Linked DNA regions of Homo sapiens: region 1 is linked to region 2. Evidence: promoter capture Hi-C in 16 types of primary human blood cells and fetal thymus (Javierre and others, 2016). All regions are on one chromosome and are shown on one strand. Each heading gives the region's core, a stretch centred on a gene start or on the middle of the fragment in contact. The rest is flanking DNA. Distances are from core to core; before and after follow the strand shown. Region 1 overlaps RASAL2 (RAS protein activator like 2). Region 2 holds the start of TEX35 (testis expressed 35).

The links. Contacts are between HindIII fragments. The CHiCAGO score rates a contact against its expected background, and 5 or more counts as called.
Region 1: a contact is called between a fragment that was not itself captured here and the fragment with the promoter of TEX35 in region 2, in 3 of 17 cell types (endothelial precursors, naive B cells and total B cells). The highest score is 9.0, in endothelial precursors.

Annotation. Positions count from the first base shown.
Region 1 is chr1:178,322,163-178,326,248 of GRCh38, reverse strand. All of the region lies in intron 3 of RASAL2 (RAS protein activator like 2), which reads right to left. LOC105371629 (a long non-coding RNA gene) reads left to right here. Exons shown (of 3, transcript XR_922306.3): 3 at 1,840-2,161. Among named protein-coding and RNA genes, the nearest start is that of CLEC20A, 170 kb to the left of the region's middle. The HindIII fragment of the contact is 2,916 bases long and covers 1,130-4,045 here.
Region 2 is chr1:178,510,091-178,514,526 of GRCh38, reverse strand. It overlaps TEX35 (testis expressed 35), which reads right to left and starts at 1,418. Exons shown (of 9, transcript NM_032126.5): 1 at 1,300-1,418; 2 at 450-500. The coding sequence starts at 1,338. LOC101928866 (a long non-coding RNA gene) reads left to right here and starts at 1,477. Exons shown (of 6, transcript XR_001738307.2): 1 at 1,477-1,885; 2 at 2,245-2,451; 3 at 3,468-3,546. The HindIII fragment of the contact is 3,272 bases long and covers 1-2,048 here.

The sequences.
Region 1 (4,086 bases), core at 1,338-3,837, 190 kb after region 2:
CATTCTTTCTAATGTGGAAAACATATAATCCAGCCTTTTACATGGGTACATGAGATTCTGCAAAATTAATTTTTCTTGGGAAAGTTAAAAAAAATTCTTATTTATTTATTAATTCATTTCTTTATTTTTAGAGGCAGGGTCTTGCTCGCTCTGTCACCCAGGCTGGAGTGCAGTAGCATAATCGTAGCTAGTGTAGACTATATAGTCATAGCTATATGTAGAATCAAACTCCTGGGCTCAAGTGATCCTCCCACCTCTGCCTCCCAAGTAGCTGGGACTACAGGCACACACCAACATGCCTGGCTAGTTTTTTTATTTTTTGTAAAGATGGGGTCTCATTATGTTGCCCAGGCTGGTCTCAAACACCTGACCTCAAGCAATCTTTCTGTTAAAGTGCTAGGATTACAGTCATGAGCCATGGTACCCAGCTAATTTTAACTTATCAACTGCAGTAACACATTTAGTTATAAAAGCTCATCTTTTACTGTAACTCTATACTGTATCAGTGATGCCAAGCCTTATTAGAAGAGGCCAAATTTTCTCTTTTCTCATATTCTGCATACAGTTTCTTTCAGGGAGCCTATCTACCACTATGAAACTTTCTAGCTTTTAGTGGCTACTCCAAGGCTATTTCTATCCAACTGTTATATGCACTGCTAATGATATTCTGCTTTTAAATGTATTTTTTTCTCTTCTTATTTTAAGTCACACCCAATGTATTATCTCATTAGCTCTATCCCTAGCTCATCTAGTTCCTAATACATATATCTGAATGAATACTTCTCTACAATTCCTACCTTTAAAAATTAATTACAAAAGATTTGTTTAAATAAGTTTTTGACTCTTCGGTGGCACTACTCTGATTAAAGTGGGAGGGAAAAAACCTAAAGGCCTTTAAGAGGAAAAAATGAACTGATAATTATCTTTCCTCTATTACTAGTTCTCTTTCTAATTCACTCGCTTTTACTTCCTTCTCATCCTGTGAATTCATGTTCTAGACACTATTTTCTACCTTGAATTTTTCCTATGTTATTCTCTACTCTTCAGAGTTAGAAAGAACACGTCAAACACAGACAAAATAGGAATGTTGTAAGGAGAATTTTTTTAAAAAATGAAATGAATGGAAGCTTCCTGTTGTGCTATATTAAATATCAATCAAAATGAGGAAACATGTTAACATGCAAATATCTGAAGACAACAGGAAAAGAAAATAGGCTTTAAATTTTACAGAAATAAAAGTAACCAGAACAATCCAATGAACACAACAGCTTTATGAGAAACTAGGGAGCTTTCTTGGTTAAGCATTGTTACTAGAGAGACCAGTTGGCAGGTGGGTGCCAAGGGGGTCATAACAAGCCAAAAACTTCATTCCTTGAGGCAGTTAGAGTCTGTTTCGCACATAAAATTAAACTAGATTTTCCACCAATCTGATTTATAAATCCTTCTGCTTGAAATGTAAACTTAAAAGGCTTTGGTAAACAGCATAGCCAATCTTGGGCTACCTAAAAAGAGAGCCATATGCACATGTACAATTAAACGATATTTAGCTAATTTTGCTCAATTTATCTGAATTACTTATTTTTCCTTTCAGAAAAGGTTCTGGGCAGTCAAGGGCCTAGGTCAAGTCTCCAAATATATTTCAAGATGCATTGTAAACAAGCCCACTCCCATCTTTCTACCTTCATTACATAACAGACTGGTGAATTATGACTATACTTTAGAAGAAAGGAAGTGCAAGTGAAAATGGAAAAAAACAAATGGGCAAAGTCACAAGATACAGAGATAGAATGCTTTAAGATGTCACACCTCAAATTTCTTTTCTTTTTTTTTTTTTCCTAGAGATCGAGTCTTGCTCTGTCACCCAGGCTGGAGTGCAGTGGTGTGATCTGCAGCCTCAAAATCCTGGACCAAAGCAATCCTCCCACCTTAGCCTCCCAAGTAGTTGGGATTACAGAAGTGAGCTACTATGACCAGCTTCAAATTTCTTTAATAGCTTAAACCTGTCCAAGCAAGATGAGAAACATAACACCTAGTCTATTATCTCACTGGTTCCATGATTTTATGAGTCAGAGCGAACTGAAGTTTGGCTCAAATCAAAGTTTATGTTATTGCTCCTGCATTCTTCTTTTGAATCATAATAAAAATCTCATCCAACAAGGAAGCTGAGGTTCAGAGTTAATGATGAGAGCATATGGAATTTGAATCCAGGTTAAGACAACTTCAAAGCTGGTGCCATTTTCCACTACCCAGCACAGTCACTGGTAAAGGTATCCTTCCAGACAGAATGTGTTCTAGTTACGGGTATGCATTTTCTTTCCTGAAAAAGTAAACCCTCTATCTGTGAAATAACTGCTAAATCTTCTTGTGTGGTTTTTATATACTAATTAATCTCTTAACAACCTAATACATGTTTTTGTTATAAATAACCTAATATTCATTTTGTGAAATGCAGCAAAAAGGATAAAATGGTCATTTCCTTTCATTAAGATACTTCATTTTCTCTTATCATTCTCTATAAATATAAGAAATTAATAAAAGTGATTTACTATTAATAAAATCTTAAAAATAAACACAAATATCTTGCTCACTAACACAACTATGGTTATGATATTAACCAACAGCACGGAGTTCAGACCTGACATTCACAACCAAGTACACTTGATACTGTGACTTGTTAACTTGGACAATGGCATTTACCAACTTTGTATTTATCAAAACCAATAGTTGTGATTATACTGCTTATAGTCCTGTGGCTGTGCAATGATATTTAGTAATTCTCTAATTTCATTACTAAACGATTTTCTCTCAAGTGGGTATGGTTTTCCCTTCAGGATAAAAAAAAATTACCCACATCTAAGATTATTTTTCACTTTGACATGCTCCACCTGAAAGTCAAGAAAGAGTTTCTCTAGTATGTCTCATATCAGTCATTTGCTCAACAATCAGTCACTCACTCAGCCTGCAGTTATGTACAAAACAACCTGCTATGGTGATACCAAGGTGAGTAAGATACAATCTTGCCATCTAAGAGGTTCCAATCTAGTAAAGATGACACATACCAACAACTTACTGAAAACATAAGAACATACATCCAAATATCAGAAGTACAAAAAGTACTGTTTATCACAAACAAAAATGCTAATGAATTCTGATTAGTGAATGAAGAAAAAGATTGCCAAGAGTTAATATCTTATTGGTCCCTTAGGATAAATGGGATTTCTACATACAGAAGGTAGAAATGAAGGTGGAAAAACAGAGCAAGATATTCCAGGTTTATGCCCTATGTGAACAAAAGCCCATGTGTATTGAGAATGCCTAGGGAATCTGAAGCAGTCCTATGTGGCCAGAACCCAGAATACATACCTGTGGTGGGTAAAAAGAAAAAAGATGATCTTAAAGAGCTAACTCTCAGTCAGAATATATAGGACGTTTAGTGTCACTGTAAATTTGAACCTCATCTTATAGATCAGTGGAGATACAGTAAAAGTGTTTAAACAAGGAAAGTAGTATGATTCAATTAGTGCTCTAAGATGACAAAAGAGCAGTGAAATGAGTTAATACAGAAGGATAAAAATGGAAACAGGAAAAGATATATGAGTAGCTATTCAGATATTTAGGTAGAAATAAAAGAGTAATGTAAAGTTAGAATGACTAGAAGGATGGTGGTCATATTAACAGAACCAACCACCACATGAGAACAGGTTGTTGGGGAGGGAAGGAACAAAGAAGGGAAACTAATCAAAGATAATGGCTTCAGTTTTGAACATTCTAGTACAGACGACCAGTTGGGAATTCAGGTCTGGAACTGAGAAGAGACGAGGAAGCCAAAAATAGAGATTTAAAAGGTACTGGCCCAGGGATGACATTTGGAAACATGAATATAGGTGAAGTCAACTACTGAGAAAGGACAAAGCAAAAGAAAAAGGGTAAGGATAAGACCTTTAGACATCTGCATTTAAAAAGTGGGAAATATTTTAAAAAGTACGGTGAGGCAGGACATAAGCAATAGAGGAAAAAATGTCACAGAAGTCAAGAAAGAGAAGCTTTAAAGGGAAGTCGATCATTAAAAACCACGAAGAGAGTTAG
Region 2 (4,436 bases), core at 169-2,668:
ATCTTGTTCCACTCCCCTGCTGGCCCACGGGGCCTCAGCTCCTTTTGTCCCTTGAACAGCCAGGCTCATTCCCACCTTGGGCCTCAGTGCATGCTGCCTCCTCTGCCTAGAAGGCTCTTACTCTGCCTTTGCAAAGCCAGAGTCTTGTCCTTCAGCTCTCAGCTCAAAGGAAGGCCTTTCCCTACCACCCACTCCACGGCAGCCACTCAGACATGTCTCCCTGTCTTGATTCCCAGCAGAGCAGGTAACACTGCTGAATGAGTCCTTGTTCGTTTATGTATCTGATTGGTTACAGTGTGAAGTTCTATGAGAGCAAGAACTCTCAGTGCATCCCCCAGCACCTGGGACAAATCTTGGCCACTAGGATCAGCAAATGACCCCTGACTCCTGGTCACTTCCCCATGGATCTCAGGCCTGGCTGCCTGCATGGCCTCAAAAGGGCTTCTTACTTTGGTCGGCTCTGGCTTCAATTCCAGGCAAACTGCCTTGTAGTTCTTGCTCTGCAAAAAGAGGAGACTGAGATTCAGGCTGGCAGACATCAGGATTGGGGAGGAGAACATCTGGCCCTTGCACGGGAACCCTGCCCCCTGCCCCCCACAACCATGCAACCCTGCCTGTCCAACTGGCTTGAGCTCAGGCTCACAGACCCCGCAGCACCCGGATCCGATTCCTAACAAATCACATCTTGTCGTGCTGTCCTCTTCCTATGGGCGTGTGTCTGCCTATTTGGCAGGCAGCCCTCTCCCTGCTGGAGGCGCCAGCGTGGAGAAAGCACTTTAAGATAACTAGAAGCAAGCCCCGGAAGTGTTGTTTCCAGAGCAAGGGCTTTGGCCATAGGCAGATTTGCACTATAGTCTCAGCTGACCTCTCTACTATCTCTGTTATTTTGGGTGAGTTGCTTAGCCTCTCTGAGCCCCCATTTCCTCATCTATAAAATCGACGTGATGATTATATTTATCTAATAAGGTTATTCTGAGCCTTAGCCCTGCTGGTTAGATGTGGGCCTGGCAGGCCTGGCATGGGCCGTGGAACCATGAGTGGTCTTGGAGTAGGGAGTGCTCCCTTGGCAGTGCTCCTCATCCCCAGAGGGAGGCAGCAGAGGCCTCTTTCCTTCCCACCCCCAAGGCTAGGGATTAATCCCACACCCCTTCCAGACTGAGAGGCTGCTTTATGCTCAGTACAGAGAAAGAAAAACCAGAGATTCATGCGAGCATTCTCTGTATCCCTTGCCCCGACACCATCTCCATTCAGTAGGAGCTCAGAGAGGACCCACACTGTCCAGCAATGTCTCTCTTTTACCAGATGTGTTTTCTTCAATTCTGCCCTCTTGGCCGACATGATGGAGGAGGCCAGGGTGTTCTTCAACTCCCCACAACAGCCCCTGGGACCAGGCCACTGTCCTAGGCAACTTACAGGTCAAGGTGAGGGCAGGGTGACCACCCCTTTGTGTACGGAACAGCTGAGGTCACAATGCCAGGACCCACATGGTGGTCCAGAGCGTCACCACAGCTTCAGGCCTGGGGGGCTTCGGCCACTGAGATGAGGGGTTCAGGCCAGGTTTCAGAGTCCCACCAGGCCTCCCTCTTGCAACAGAAGGAAAGTCCACACTGAGGAGGATCATGGCCTGCTACGGTCGAAGTGCAAGGCACGCGTCAGAAGCAGTGGCTCCTTCTGCAGCAGGACTCACCTACTGACTCAGAAGGACGTCCTCCAGGGACAGCCAGCTCCTCCTCTGAGCGCACAGCCCATGTCCTCTGCTGTGCGCTCCTCGCGCGAACCGACCCCACCTCGGACCGGAAGCCACCTTGGGCTGGAGGATGCCATGAAGTCTCTCTGGTTCAACGTGCATGCACCGTCTCACTTAACCTGGGTTACTCTGTATGAGGTGGGGTAGCCAGTCTCAGCAGGATGGTTTCTGATGCCTCTGACCTCACACTGCCCCTGTCCCACAACCACCCCCAGACCCCTGCCCACCTAAAAATTCTCTTTTCCTAGTTCTTCTATCATCCGGGAAGAGGGTTGGGACAAGAAGCTAAAGATAAGAAGCTTTTCGGGCAAATGAAGAATACTAAAGAAAAGGCCATTCTGCGGGTAGCCATAGTTTGTGCTAAAGTAGACAGTCAGAGGAACATGGCACCCCATGGGATAAAAAATCACTGGGGATCTGGGTTGGTGAAATTGATTTCTCTTTTCCTCTTATCACTGGTCATTCACTTCCTTCTTCCCTCTCATTTCAACTGCTAGTTGCACAGAAAAGGCCAACATGGACATCTGAGGACAGACAGCACAGGAGTACAGGAACTAATGCAAATTGCATGTGAATGACATCCCCATGCAGGCCACTACTGACCACACTTACCCTCCCATTTCACACACCTGCTTGGGACTATCCTTCCTGGAGGCCACTGGAACTTCTGGAGCCACCTGCAGCACTTCTGATGCATTTCCTAGGTGGTGATTTCCCAGCCCTGACACTGGTGACAGCTGTGGGTCTTACTCCACCATAGCCAGAGGAGAATGTGTCTGCCACTGCATCAGCGGAAGGAGAGGGAGTTGGGGGTGGTCACCAGCTTCCCAGGCTTCACTTTCCCCACTTATAAATGAGGGGCTGGAACTTTTCAGTTTCCTTGGACCTTTTAATTCAGCCCTCTCAGATCTGATGGCCTCGTGGTAGGAATGCCCTTCCTCTAAGGGAATTACAGTGAAAATGACTGACTCCATCTCAACATCCACCAGCCCCGTGAAAATGTGCCCCACCTCCTTCTGCTAATTTTGGCTTGGGGGCCTCCTGGACCTGCAGTAGAGCTTCCCTTGCTTGGCTGAGCAGTTGTTAAATGAGCTGCCTTCTAGCCAAGCATAGCACATGAGCCCACTGGCCTATCTATTAGGAAAGAAGGTCTAAGAGAAATCAGGGTCTCAATGCAAAGCTGCATTATAAAGTAAAAAATTATCTATGTATATATACACAAGTACACATGGTATTATCATTTGGGCAGAATTTTAACTACAGAGCCACAGCTCTGGGCTTGTGCCTTCTCACAGCGTTTACTATTCATGTTCTCAAACATTGTACACCATTGTTTTATCGATATATTCTGGCGGGGCTGGGGGAATCCACGTGGCGAACCTGAATACTGATTATTTATTTATGAAGAGACAGGATCTTGCTCTTTCTCCCAGGCTGGAGTGCAGTGGTATGATCATGGATCATTGCAGTCTCGAACCCCTGGACTCAAGCAATTCTCCTGCCTCAGCATCCTGTGTAGCTGGGACCACAGGCATGCGCCACCCCACTCCCAGCTAATTTTTAAAATTTTTTTGTGGAGACAAGGTCTCACTATGTTGCTCAGGCTGATCTCCAACTCCTGAGCTCAAGGGATCCTCCCACCTCGGCCTCCCAGAGTGCTAGGATTGCAAGCATGAGCCACCATGCCCAGTCTGAATAATGATTCTCATATTCTTTTAAGAAGCTTTTGCACCTGCAAGAGAAACGAGGTTGAAGCAGTGTTGCAGTGTTGGTATTGCTGTGGTGTGACTTTGTTCTAGGTAAGCCATAGGACGTTCTTACTTGAAGAACGCCAGACACGCTTTTCCTAATCCCCCTTCAGGGCAAAACCCCTCTGTACCAGGGCAAGCAGCATAGAGCCCACTGCTGCTCCATCGGAGTTTGGGGGAAAAGGAATATTCACAACAGACAGAAAGAAGCAGCCACCTGTCTCTGTTCTCCAAGTTGATATCATTTGGGTTTCATTTTCTTTACAAGGGTCCTGCTTTTTTTTTTTCAGTTTTAAGGATACAGTGTTGTGAGGGGAGGCTGGGGTCGGGGGGAATTTTAAAATGGTTTTAAGCCTCTGAGTTTGGCATTTTGTGATTCTGGGTCTGGCCCATGATGAGGTCCAGGCTCAGCCACTCCCTGCGTCAAGGCCCAGAGAACATGAAGAGAACATCATGCGTGCTGAGGGGCCTATTCGACCACTGGGGGCCCAATGTTCTAAAGTCCTTTGATTAGGGTGGAACATTTCACAAAGACCCAGAATCCCACAGGCTTTGCTGTCCAGTCAAACTCAAACAGACACGGCTCAATACATGTGACCTAGACGACTCACACTTAGGATGCCCTGGCTGTTTACATCCCAACAGGCTGCAGTATCTGGGTGGCTGCCCTCAGCCAGAGACGATCTTACATGAGATCCTCTTACATGACATTTTTAGAGATCTCATATGATTGATTCCTGTGTCATCCTACTTGACTGATTTATAGACACCTTGGAAAGCTTTACTCCGAGCAGAGTAGAAATAGCTTTTATCATTGGCACACTGATTACTATGCAATTTCTGATCATTTTTATCATAGTGTATCAGACCTTGGCTGGAATCATAATCCTATTATGTTGTTTCTTTGGAAAATTTATATCCAGTTTTTATCATATGAACTT